Linked DNA regions of Homo sapiens: region 1 is linked to region 2. The links are contacts of gene promoters, found by promoter capture Hi-C in blood cells and fetal thymus (Javierre and others, 2016). All regions are on one chromosome and are shown on one strand. Each heading gives the region's core, a stretch centred on a gene start or on the middle of the fragment in contact. The rest is flanking DNA. Distances are from core to core; before and after follow the strand shown. Region 1 has its middle 6.5 kb from the start of SRSF3. Region 2 holds the start of CPNE5 (copine 5).

The links. Contacts are between HindIII fragments. The CHiCAGO score rates a contact against its expected background, and 5 or more counts as called.
Region 1: a contact is called between a fragment that was not itself captured here and the fragment with the promoter of CPNE5 in region 2, in 11 of 17 cell types (monocytes, M0 macrophages, naive B cells and 8 more). The highest score is 15.4, in monocytes.

Annotation. Positions count from the first base shown.
Region 1 is chr6:36,586,548-36,589,247 of GRCh38, reverse strand. No RefSeq gene overlaps it. Among named protein-coding and RNA genes, the nearest start is that of SRSF3, 6.5 kb to the left of the region's middle. The HindIII fragment of the contact is 5,571 bases long and covers 1-2,700 here.
Region 2 is chr6:36,838,002-36,840,701 of GRCh38, reverse strand. CPNE5 (copine 5) reads left to right here and starts at 1,258. Exons shown (of 21, transcript NM_020939.2): 1 at 1,258-1,419. The coding sequence starts at 1,325. RefSeq lists a silencer at 585-794. The HindIII fragment of the contact is 11,867 bases long and covers 1-2,700 here.

The sequences.
Region 1 (2,700 bases), core at 67-2,566, 250 kb after region 2:
GCTCCTGGGTTCAAGCAATTCTTCTGCCTCAGCCACCCAAGTAGCTGGGATTACAGGCGTTTGCCACAACGCCCAACAAATTTTTTTATTTTTAGTAGAGACAGGGTTTCGCCATGATGGCCAGGCTGGTCTGGAATTCCTGACCTCAAGTGATCCGCCCGCCTCGGACTCCCAAAGTACTGGGATTACAGGTGTGACCCACTGCACCTGGCCACGTATATATATTTTTTAACTTAAAATTTAAAAAATGTTTAATTTAAAATTAAAAACAAAAAATGCTGGGCACAATGGTTCATGCCTGTAATCCCAGCACTTTGAAAGGCTGAGGCGAGAGGACCACTTCAGGCCAGGAGTTTGAGACTGGCCTGGACAACATAGCAAGACCCCCCCGCCCCGTACAAAAAAATACAAAAATTAGCTGGGCATGGTGTTGTGCGCCTATAGTCCCAGCTACTTAGGGGGCTGAGTTGGGAGGATCACTTGAGCCTGTGAGGCAGAGGTTGCAGTGAGCTGAGATTGCACCACTTCACTCCAGCCTGGGGCACATAGTGAGACTCTGCTCAGAAAAAAAAAATTTTCAAAAAAGAAAGAAATTACTGATGGCCAGGTGCTAAGAGTTTTGTATAAGGTTTAATGTTTTTGTTGTTGTTGTTTTGTTTGTTTGTTTGAGACAGATTCTTGCTGTGTCACCAGGCTGGAGTTCAGTGGCATGATCTTGGCTCATTCCAACCTCCACCTCCCAGTTTCAAGTGATTCTCCTGCCTCAGCCTCCTGAGTAACTGGGACGACAGGCATGCGCCACCAAGCCCAGCTAATTTTTGTATTTTTAGTAGAGACAGGGTTTCACCATGTTGGCTAGGATAGTCTCAATCTCTTGATCTCGTGATCTACCCGCCTCAGCCTCCCAAAGTGCTGCGATTACAGGCGTGAGCCACTGCACCCAGCCTGGTTTAATGTTTTATGTTTTGGGGGGCCAAGATGGGAGAATCGCTTAAGGCCAGGTGTTCTGAAACCAGCAGTTTTACTATTGTCTCTACAAAAATTTAAAAAAACAAATTAGCAAAGTGGTGCTGCATGCCTGTAGTTCTAGCTACTCAGGAGGCTGAGACGGCAAGGATCTCTTGAGTACAGGAGTTCGAGGCTGCAGTGGGCTATGATTATTTCACTGCACTCCAACTTGGGCAACATAGCAAGACCTTGTCTCTAAGAAGAAAAAAAAATTTTTTTTGGCTATAATCCAAGCACTGTGGGAGGCTGAGGCAGGCAGATCATCTGAGGTCAGGAGTTTGAGACCAGCCTGGCCAACATGACGAAACCCTGTCTCTACTAAAAATACCAAAATTAGCCAGGCATAATGGTGCGCGCCTGTAATTCCAGCTACTTGGGAGGCTGAGGCAGCAGAATCCCTTGAACCCAGGAGGCAGAGGTTGCAGTGAGCCAAGATACCACTGCACTCCAGTCTGGGCAACAGAGTGAGACTCCGTTTCAAAACAAATAGATAAATAAATAAATAATAAAATATTTAATGTTTTAAATATTGTGATTGACTTCAAGTATCCGTGAAGGAAAATCTTAAACAGTATGAACCTTCACAGGCTGGGCGTGGTGGCTCATGCCTGTAATCCCAGCACTTTGGGAGGCCGAGGCAGGTGGATCACCTGAGGTCAGGAGTTTGAGACCAGCCTGGCCAACATGGTGAAACTCCATCTCCACTAAAAAATACAAAAATTGGCTGGGCGCGATGGCTCACGCCTGTAATCCCAGTACTTTGGGAGGCCGAGGTGGGAGGATCACAAGGTCAGAAGATCGAGACCATCCTGGCTAACACAGTGAAACCCCGTCTCTACTCAAAATACAAAAAATTAGCTGGGCATGGTGGCACTCACCTGTAGTCTCGGCTACTAGGGAGGCTGAGGCAGGAGAATCGGTTGAACCCAGGAGGCAGAGGTTCAGTCAGCCGAGATCACACCACTGCACTCCAGCCTGGGCAACAGAACGAGACTCCGTCTCAAAAAAGAAAAACCCAAAAATTAGCCAGGCATGGTGGCTCACACCTGTAATCACAGCTACTCTGGAGGCTGAGGCAGGAGAATCTCTTGAACCCGGGAGGCAGAGGTTGCAGTGAGCCAAGGTTGTGCCACTGCACTCCAGCCTGGGCCACAGAGTGAGACTCCGTCTCAAAAAAAAAGTAAAAATTTTTTAAAAAAGAGCATGAACCATCACAATAGTTCATTAACTACATGGTTCAGTCAAGATCCTGGCAGAAACCAGATGGCACACTTAAAGAGTTAACCACATAGGGAATTATGTACAGGGGTGTGGGCAGAGTTAAGGAAACCCATAGTGGGTAAGGGCAATCCCAAAGGCAGCTCGTAGGCCCAATGGGGCAAGGAAGGGAGCAGGGTTACCAAAAACAGCCAGCTGCTGTTGCTGTGGGAGATGAGCTATTATAGCTTTAGATAGAGGAACTGTGGCAGCCCAGTTTTGGGGGTGTGGGGCTAGAACCACTCTCTCCATTGTCCCATCTTTTAATGGTGACATCTTTTGCTCAAAACCAACTGGAAGCCTGAGGGCAAGAGAGCTGGGTGATACAAGTCTAGAGGTTGGTTGGCCAGGGCACAGAGCAGGGCTGAGAAGGCTAGAGAACTGATCTAGGGTTGTGCTGTCCAATATGGTAGCCACAGGTACCTGTGGCAAGTT
Region 2 (2,700 bases), core at 9-2,508:
GCCACCAGACTGGGTGGCAGGAGCTTCTAGACCTGGAGGCTGGCTCAGTCGTGTGGTCACGACGGGCGGGGGAGTGGAAGGGCGCTGGCGCGTGGTTTCGGCAGCCGACTTGGCGAGGCCGCGGCTGGCGGGAACCACGGATGGGGGAGGCGCCCATGCACCGACCCCACCTGGGCCACTGGGAAACCGAGGTAGTCCCTCCTGGCACTGGGGTCGCCCCCACACACCTCCCCAGAAGGAGATGTAGGGTCTGTTTCTGAACTGAGACCCGCCCCCGAGTAGGGCGCACACTCAGCAGAGACCCTCCACACCCAAGCCCCTGGGAGGGGATCTTTTTTGCACACCTCCCTCCCACTTATGCCCCCTCTCAACCCTGCATAGACCTTTCTCAAAAAGGCGCCCGTTGGTTCCCATAACCCTCCCCCTCCCCCAGGATGGAGACCCCTGATGGGAGATAGGGGTGGTGAGAGGGGGCGGGCGCAAATGAAGATGCGCGCGACCAGGACCACCTCTTGCTGTCACCCGCCACGTCCCCAGCATCTGGACCGCGTCCCCCGGCCCGCCACGCGCGCACACACACACACACGCGCACACACACACGCTCACACTCACCCTGCGCGCAGACCCCGCCCGCGGCCCCGCCCCGGCCCCTGCGGGCGCCCCCTCTGGCGTTCCCGGGCGGCGGGAGGCTGCGGCTTCGGGCAGATTTGATTTTCCCGCAGCCCGGGCGCCCCGGAGCCGAAGCCCGAGCCGAGGAGGTGGCGCTCGCAGCCGCGTCTCAGCCCCGTCGCCGCCGGCGCCAAGACCCAGGGAGAGGCGGCGCAGCCCGGGCGCTCGGGCTCCGCGCTGCCGGCGCCCCGCCACCCCCGCCGCCAGCGCCCCATCCGGCGCCTCCCGCTCCTCACGCCCCTCTCCCTGTCTTCTGCATCCCCTCTACCTCTGCCCACAGACGCGCGTCCCTCTCCTGGTGCCCCTCTCCACGACTCCGCGTTTCCCTCCCGGTGCCCTCTCCCCGAGCCCCTCTCCCCGCGCCCCTCTCTGCCTTCCCCGCTGTGCCCCCGCTCCCTGGGCTCCTTGCCCTTCCCCACTGGGCCCCTAGCCTCCTCGCGGCGTCACCCGAGCCCCCTCCTCGATCCGCGGCCCCCGCTCCCTCCGCCCTCTTCCCTCTCTCACTTCCCACGCCCCCTCTTCGCGCTCCTCTCTCCTCCCCTTGCCGCCCAGCCCAGGCTCTGGAGTTGGGGGAGAGCCCAGGGCTCCAGTCGCTCCGGAGGAGGCGTGAATCGCGCAGGGATTGACTAATTTGGGGTGGGGGGTGCGGTGGGCGATGGAGCAGCCTGAGGACATGGCGTCGCTGAGCGAGTTCGACTCCTTGGCGGGCAGCATCCCGGCCACCAAGGTGGAGATCACCGTGTCCTGCAGGTGAGCCTCCCGCTGGCCGGGTCCCCTTGCCCCGGCCCTGGACGCAGAGCCCCGCGGCCCCTGCCGCTTCGATCCTAAACCTCCGCGCGCCCCCTTCCCAGAGTGTCCTGGTCTCCAGGACTGCGCCCCTGCCGATCTGCCAAGAGCCCCTGTCCTGTCCAGCTGCGGGTGGCGACGGCAGAATAGGAAGCCAGGCTGGGGTCATATCCCAGAAAGTTTGCGCTCCAGGCTGTTGCATCGAGGAGATATGAAGACACAGGAACAGGGGGTCCAGGCACCCAAGTGGGGAGAGGGAGTTGGTAAAAGGCTGTACTACGGTCTCTGCTCAGGCTATCTCTGATCACCCCATCCCCAAATCACGAAGTGAGTGATTTGCCCCCATCCCTCCCAGGCTCGTCCACCCTCTCCCTTCTGTGCCCTCCTCTCTTCTCTCTTTGCCCCTTCTTTGCCCCAGCATCCTGATCCTCCCCTCACCAGTCTCCCCCACCCCACTGTCCTAGACTCTAGGATTTTAAAGCCTTCCTTCATCTCTATCAACAACGAAATCGACTCCTGGAAAAGGATCAGATTGACTCATTCATACTAAGGTGTGGATACATGATAACAACTTAAAGTGGCACCATTAAAAAAATAACTTGGGTCAAAAATCTTAAGCCAAAGGAATAGAACACTGATTGTGAAACTGTAGAGTCCAACAGAGGAGGAGGGGGAATATTTTTGTGGGCTACCACGCCCAAATCTTCACTCATGTCACACAGGGTTTGGGGGTAACTTCTCTGTCTAAGAGCTGGGTCGACCCCAGGTTCTCCTAGCTAGGGGAAGGCTGCCCCTGGCAGTAAGAGGGTATGGGTGGCAAAGGGGGATTTTTCCCTAGTTCAGTCTCTCTGTGGCTGGCCTAGGATCATGTGCTGCCACGCAAGCATCACCCACTTTGAGGTTCCCCCACAGAGGCCATGCCCCCTGCCCCAGATCACCGACAGCATTTCTGGAGCCCTGGCTGTGCCCTTGTTCGAAATCACCCATCTCATCCTCTTCCAGGTTGCTCCTTGGTCAGACCCTCCATGAGAGGTAACCTTGTTGCCCCCCAGTCCTGTATTACAAAGTTGTGGCATTGATGAGGTGTAGGTAGAGCTGGAGAGTCTGGGCAGGGGCGTGAAGGAGGGAAGGACTCAGTGTGACTTTCTCTTGAAGACTTGGGGATAAGTGGCAGTGAAGGCTAGTCTGGTTGAACGTAGCTTCCCCCCTAAGCCAGGCCCTCTGGGGGCTCCTGTGATAGCTCCC